Linked DNA regions of Homo sapiens: region 2 is linked to region 1. Evidence: promoter capture Hi-C in human tissues and cell types (Jung and others, 2019). All regions are on one chromosome and are shown on one strand. Each heading gives the region's core, a stretch centred on a gene start or on the middle of the fragment in contact. The rest is flanking DNA. Distances are from core to core; before and after follow the strand shown. Region 1 holds the start of PGD (phosphogluconate dehydrogenase). Region 2 overlaps UBE4B (ubiquitination factor E4B).

The links. Contacts are between HindIII fragments. The study calls those that stand out against the background at their distance.
Region 2: a contact is called between a fragment that was not itself captured here and the fragment with the promoter of PGD in region 1, in 1 of the 25 tissues and cell types used here (hippocampus).

What each region holds. Positions count from the first base shown.
Region 1 is chr1:10,396,945-10,400,499 of GRCh38, forward strand. PGD (phosphogluconate dehydrogenase) reads left to right here and starts at 2,120. Exons shown (of 13, transcript NM_002631.4): 1 at 2,120-2,181; 2 at 2,685-2,760; 3 at 3,449-3,555. The coding sequence starts at 2,174. RefSeq lists an enhancer at 1,508-1,817 and silencers at 2,298-2,617, 2,710-2,886. The HindIII fragment of the contact is 25,181 bases long and covers 1-3,555 here.
Region 2 is chr1:10,160,208-10,163,810 of GRCh38, forward strand. It overlaps UBE4B (ubiquitination factor E4B), which reads left to right. Exons shown (of 28, transcript NM_001105562.3): 23 at 935-1,079. It also overlaps the pseudogene RNU6-828P. Among named protein-coding and RNA genes, the nearest start is that of KIF1B, 49 kb to the right of the region's middle. The HindIII fragment of the contact is 4,286 bases long and covers 1-3,484 here.

The DNA.
Region 1 (3,555 bases), core at 870-3,369:
AATGAAAACAACAATTTGTACATGAGTTCAAAACAGAATTATTTATTTCCCAAACTAGAAACAATCCAAATGTCTATCAACAGATAAATGGATAAGCAAATGATGACACAATTGCATTAATGGAATACCACTCAGCAATGAAAAGGAACAAACCACTCATACCTACAACACAGATGAGCCTCAGAAACGTGATGCTAAGTGAAAGAAGCCAGACCAAAAAAATTATATGCTATTATTCCATTTCTATGAAATTTCTGGAAAAGGCAAAAACCATGCAAAGTAGATCAGAGGTTGGCTGGGGGTGAGAGCAGAGACTGACTACAAATAGGCCCAAGGGAACGTTTTGGGGTGATGGAAGTTTTCTATAAGTGGATTATGGTGATGGCTACACAACAGTATAAATTAAAGGTCATCCAAATGTGTACTTACAATGTTTGAATTGTATGACATGTAAATTATCTCATTAAATCTGTATTTTAAAAAAAGAACTGTGCTGTGAAGTTTGACATATTTTAAAGTAGGATGTCTTAGCCGGGCATGGTGTTGCATGCCTGTAGTCCTAGCTACTCAGGAAGTTGAGGCTAGAAGATTGCTCGACCTCAGGAGTTCAAGGCTGCAGTAAGCTATGGTCATGCCACTGCACTCCAGCCTGGGCAACAGAGCAAAGACCTGGTCTTTATAAAAATTAAAAACCGGCCGGGCACAGTGGCTCACACCTCTAATCCCAGAACTTTGGGAGGCTGAGGTGGGTGGATCACTTGAGGTTAGGAGTTCGAGACCAGCCTGGCCAACATGGTGAAACCCTGTCTCTACTAAAAATAAAAACATTAGCTGGGCATGGTGGCACACACCTGTAGTCCCAGCTACTTGGGAGGCTGAGGCAGGAGAATCGCTTGAACCTGGGAGGTGGAGGTTGCAGTGAGCCCAGATCGCGCCACTGCCCTCCAGCCTGGAGACACAGCCAGACTCCATCTCAACAATGACATCAAAAAAAGGCCGGGCACGGTGGCTCACGCCGGTAATCTCAGCACTTTGGGAGGCCAAGGCGGGCGGATCACGAGGTCAGGAGTTTGAGACCAGCCTGGCCAAGATGGTGAAACCCCATCTCTACTAAAAATACAAAAATTAGCTGGGCGTGGTGGCGGGCGCCTGTAATCCCAGCTACTTGGGAGGCTGAGGCAGGAAAATTGCTTGAACCCGGGAGGCGGAAGGTGCAGTGAGCTGAGATCACACCACTGCATTCCAGCCCGGGCGACAGTGCGAGACTCCGTCTCAAAAAAAACAAAAAAAATCTAAAACTCAAACTTCTGAATAACAATTTCCTCCTAGCAAGAAGGGACTCAGTAAGATAAGAAGCGCTGCTTGGCTACTTTGCAAATGTCTGGCTTAAGATGGCTGGTTTTTTGTATCTGCCTCTGCATTTAACCTGGTCCATCTCGCGGGTCACATAGCCTCTACAAAATGAGAAGGGGTTCAATACCGTTAACTCCGGGCCTGGGTAAAAGACTCAAGTCCTGACCCCATCATACTCCAACCAATACATACCCCGCCTGCGCTGTCTGCGCCTGGGTCTCTTCAACCGCAGTGAGCGGTCGCACGGCTCCACATCAGGGTCGCCCTGAGGCTCAGCCTTCCCCGGCCCCATTCCGAGTGCGCACAGGACTGAACGAGCACGCCCGGTCCCTGCTCCGGAGCGGAGGACACGACGCGGACCCGCACGGTGCACCGCAGTGACCTGAGGAAGGAGCGACGGGCGCTCGCGCCAAAGGCGTCCGAGTGCCTGGTAAACTGTAAAGCGCGGTCCTGCGTGAGTTGCTATGGCTACAGCTGCGCCAGGCGGACGGCCTGCAGGACCGAGGTGCAGCTGGGACGAGCGGAAAGCTCTGCGCGTGGGCGGGGAGCCCGGAGCCTCGCCGGGGCAATGTCATCTAGGTGCTCGGCGCTCCACTGATCCGGCCCCCGGGGGTGGGCGGGCACGTTTGCCTCGGATGGTCTAACAGGCGTCGGGGAGAGCCAATGGTGTGGCTTCATGGCTCCACCCCCTTCCATTCGATTGGCCGGCGCCGAAAAGCCGGGCGTGAGCGGCCGCAGTTTCTGGAGGGAGCCGCTGCGGGTCTTTCCCTCACTCGTCCTCCGCGCGTCGCCGCTCTTCGGTTCTGCTCTGTCCGCCGCCATGGCCCAGTGAGTGACTCGCCAGGGGCAGCCCGGCTCGGCCTCAGCGGGCGGGGAACTCTTTGGGGGTCGAGATCTCCCTCGTTCTCTCCGACGCCTCCCACCCTGGGGGTCGCCTGAGCTCACTTGGGGCTCTGTGACCCTGGCCCTACGGCGTCTCGGGCCCAGAGCTCCTTCCCTGCGGGCCCGGCCCCCTGCCCTCTCGGCCGCGCAGGCATGGGGCGGGGCGGGTCCCTTCGAGGGCCAGGGAGGAGGCGCGGCCAGGCCTCGCCGAGTCTGCAGGGACACCTGCGGGACGCGTGCCAGCGGGAGCCGGGCGCGAGGGCGGGGCTGGGGGCCGCCTGCCCGGCCGAGGCTCTGCAGCGTGCGCGCCCGGCTTCTGGGGGCCCGCGGGAGGCGCGGAGGAAAGTGCAGACTCCCAGTCACGGCCAAATGTGGAAGGACCGGACCCCTGGGTTGCAGCGCGTCGAGCGGTGCTGACTCTTTCCTTTGTTCTGTTTCTGCCTCTCTAGAGCTGACATCGCGCTGATCGGATTGGCCGTCATGGGCCAGAACTTAATTCTGAACATGAATGACCACGGCTTTGTGGTAAGCGGCGTGGGCGCGTTGTCTTCTCTCTGGTTCCCGGGCGCTTTAGCCGAGGCCGGCGATAGGTTTGGGAGCTTACGGGTCTCCTGGCCGTGCTTTGCTAATGTGCTCTGTTGCTGCTCGTGGCATTTTTGTATGGAAAGGAGAAGCACCCTGTAGGCGTGGGCGGGCCGATCCCGAACTTAGTCCTGCGGAGTGTGCCTGTGGGTCCGTGAGGTTCACAGCCCGAATGAACGAATTAGTGTCTTAAGTAGAGAAGAAGGGTGCGGGAGGAGAACCCTTGCTGGCTGTGTAGAGCTCTAACTTGATTGCCTGATGAGATCTGGGGAGAGTGAAAATGTTTCTTCTAAATGTTAAAGTGGCTTAGACGCCAGGATGATCAATAACAACAGATAGAGCCTGTTGAACCGGCCAGTTCCTGGATTTGATTTTGAGTCCTAACACGTTGGGTGTGGATTCTACCTGACACACCGGGGGTAGTTGGCCTTCGCCTCGGTTGTCCGCCGTTTTCATCCTACTGAGGTGACATAACTTTACAGTGAGCCTCCCACAGCTGGGGGAAGAAAAGGCAAAGGCAGGTCTGACCTCCCCAGAACTTGGGTTGAATGGAAAGGTCATTGTTACTTTGGCCACAGTCTGAAAGTCTTGTGTGTCCTGGATCTCCTACTCAGGACTTTTGTCCTTCTAGGTCTGTGCTTTTAATAGGACTGTCTCCAAAGTTGATGATTTCTTGGCCAATGAGGCAAAGGGAACCAAAGTGGTGGGTGCCCAGTCCCTGAAAGAGATGGTCTCCAA
Region 2 (3,603 bases), core at 92-2,591, 240 kb before region 1:
CTTCCAGTTTTAAAGTAAGTTAATATCCCACTTTATCAATATTACAGGTTCCAATTTTTCTTCCATGCGTCAGTCTTTGTGATAAGGAATAACTATATCAGTTGTTTTCTTATCTGTTGTATGTGGTTAATTATTTGCATTTTCTTGGTATATTGGTGAGTATATGCGTTTTTCCTGTTCTAGTCTGGAAGAAGTGTTTTCTCTCCTTAAAAACATTGAGGGAGTGAGCTAGGGGTGTGCTGGTAAGCCTGCTCTGGGAAGCAGGGTGGGGGAGTCAGCATTTGCTGGTTTTCCATGGTGTGACTGTTTCCTCTGTTGCCCAATTTAAGGTGCCAGGGGAATCTGGTTATAAAATTCTGGAATATTTAGCACTTGACTGTCATCAGCCGTGCAAGGTGGCTCCAAATACCACTGGAATGAGCTTATCATAAACAATTTAAAAGAATAACAAAATCCAGGCCAGGTGTGGTGGCTCATCTCTGTAATCCCAACATTTTGAGGGGCTGAGGTGGGAGGAACGCTTGAGCCCAGGAGTTTGAGACCAGCCCTGGCAACATAACAAGTCCCTGTCTCTACAAAAAATACAAAAGCTGGGCGTGGTGGTGTGTGCCTGTAGTTCCAGCTACTTAGGAGGCTGAGGCAGGAAGATTGCTTGAGCCCTGGAGGTCGAGGATGCAGTGAGCTGTGATTGTGCCACTGCATTCCAGGCTGGGCGACAGAGTGAGACCCTGTCTCAAAAAGAAACAAGATTAACATAATCTAAAGAGAAGCTTGGTGGTCCTTGAATTCCATAGTGCCTGACTTGTGCCAGGGTAGCCAGGCTTTTAGGGTGAGATAGTTGCAGTCTGGGTGGAGGTGCTTGTTCCCTGGGATTTGCTGTGGCATTTTGCTTCAGGGAGATGTATGACCATGTACAATATAATTGCCTTTCCAGCTCCGGGAAGCAGTTTGTTCGCTATATAAACATGTTGATAAACGACACGACGTTTTTGCTCGATGAAAGTCTGGAGTCTCTGAAGCGAATCCATGAAGTGCAGGAAGAGATGAAGAACAAAGAACAGTGGGACCAGTTGCCCCGGGTGAGGACGTGGTCCAGAGGCTTGGACAGCTTTGCAGGCCATCTGCCTCCACACACGGGCAGAGCTGCTTTGGGGCTGCATTTGTGGGTCTGATGATATGCGATCTGACATGCTGGGATTTTCCTTCCATGAAATCATATTGCAGGATTGGAATAGGAAAATTCTTAAATACCTTATCTGAAGCTAAGAAATGGGTTGAGAAGTCTTTGAAAATGTACACTGAAAACTTTCTCTGCCTTTTTAATTTTAAAGGGCTTTTTTGGAGATGAGCTTTTATTGTCTGAATATATTAATATTCATGAACATAATTAGGAAAGAAATCTCTAGAATTATGTCTGCTGGACAAGAATTTGATTTGTTCCTATGGGCTTCTCTAGGCAACTGTGTGAATCACTCAGGATCCTGGCGGGGTGTTTTTTCCCTTTCAGTTGATCTTGGGTTTTATATTCAGTTATTAATAGAAAAGAGGCCTGGCTTGCCAGGTTCCATGGAAAGCACGTGCCGTGCCAGTACCAGTGCTCTTTCCTGACGTGCGTAGCAGCCACTGAGATACTTCCTTGGTCGCTTATGAGGCCCTTGACAGTTGCTGGTGACTTCTTAGATTGGCTTAGGTTTATTGATTCTGTTCTTGGAATTGTCAGGCTCAGAATCAGAACTGATTTCCATAAGGGGTTCTCATGTCAAAGTGGGGACTGCTTTTTCTTCACTTTTTCTTTTTTTTTTTTTTTTGAGACGGAGTTTCACTCTTGTCGCCCACGCAGGAGTACAGTGGTGCGATCTCTTCTCACTGCAATCCCCGCTTCTCCGGTTGAAGCGATTTTCGTGCCTCAGCCTTCTGAATAGCTGGGATTACAGGCGCCTGCCACCACACCTGGCTAGTTTTTGTATTTTGTTTGTTTGTTTTTGAGACGGAGTCTTGCTCTTTCACCCATGCTGGAGTGCAGTGGCACGATCTCAGCTCACTGCAATCTTTGCCTCCTGGGTACAAGTGATTCTCCTGCCTCAGCCTCCCAAGTAGTTGGGACTACAGGCACCTGCCACTACGCCTGGCTTATTTTTTGTATTTTTAGTAGAGATGGGGTTTCACCGTGTTAGCCAGGATGGTCTCGATCTCCTGACCTTGTGATCCGCCTTCCTCGGCCTCCCAAAGTGCTGGGATTACAGGCGTGAGCCATTGCACCCGGACAATTTTTGTATTTTTAGTAGTGACGGGGTTTCACCATGTTGGCCAGGCCTGTCTTGGACTCCTGACCTCAGGTGATCCATCCGCCTCAGCCTCCCAAAGTGCTGGGACTACAGGCGTGAGTCACCGCGCCCAGACTTTTTTTTTTTTTTTTTCTTTTTTAATTTCAACTTTTATTTTAGATTCAGGGGATGGGGTACATGTGCAGGTTTGTTACATGGGTATACCGTGATGCTGAGGCTTTATGATTCAGCCTGTCACCCAGGGAGTGAGCATAATACCTAATAGGTAGTTTTCAACCCTCACTCCTCCCTCACTCCCCTCCCTTGTAGTCCCCAGTGTCTGTTATTCCCGTCTCCGTCCATGTGTACCAATGTTTAGCTCCCATTTATACCTGCTTTTCTTCTTATGTATTAAAGTTCTACCCATTCTCTGAGTAAGGTCCTATCCAAATACTCCCTCAGGTTTGTCTTCGCCAATCAGCATAGCTGAAAATTCTCACCTTTCTCCTTACTTCTGTAACACCCACTTTATACCATTCACAGTGCTTGGTATGCCCAGCTTATATTTTATTTACTTATTTGTTTTTTATTATTATTAATAAATAAAGACAGAGTGTTGATCTGTCGCCTTGGCTGGAGTGCACTGGCAGGATCATAGCACACCACAGCCTCAACCTCCTGGACTCAAGTGATCCTCCTGCCTCAGCCTTTGTAGATCCAAAGAGCTGGATCTACAAGCATGTACCACCACGCTTGGCTAATTAAAAAAATTTTTTTTATAGAGACAAAGTCTCACATGCTTGCTTCAGCAGCACGTATACTAACATTGGAACAATGCAGAGAAGATTACCATGGCCCCTGCTCGAGGATGACATGCAAATTCATAAAGCATTCCATCCTTTAAAAATAAATATTAGGCCAGGGGTGGTGGCTCACGCCTGTAATCCCAGCACTTTGGAAGGCCGAGGCGAGTGGATCACAATGTCAAGAGATCAAGAACATCCTGGCCAACATGGTGAAACCCCGTCTCTACTAAAAATACAAAAATTAGCTGGGTGTGGTGGCACGCCGCTGTAGTCCCAGCTACTTGAGAGGCTGAGGCAGGATAATTGCTTGAACCCGGGAGGCGGAGGTTGCAGTGAGCCAAGATCGCACCACTGCACTCCAGCCTGGGCGACAGAGTGAGACTCCGTCTCAAATAAATAAATAAATATTAAAGAGAGAGAGTCTTGCTAGTTTTCCCAAGCTGGTCTTATATTTTATTTACTTACTATTTTTATTATTAAATTATTTTTTATTTTATTTTATTTTATTTTTTGAGACAGAGTCTCACTCTGTC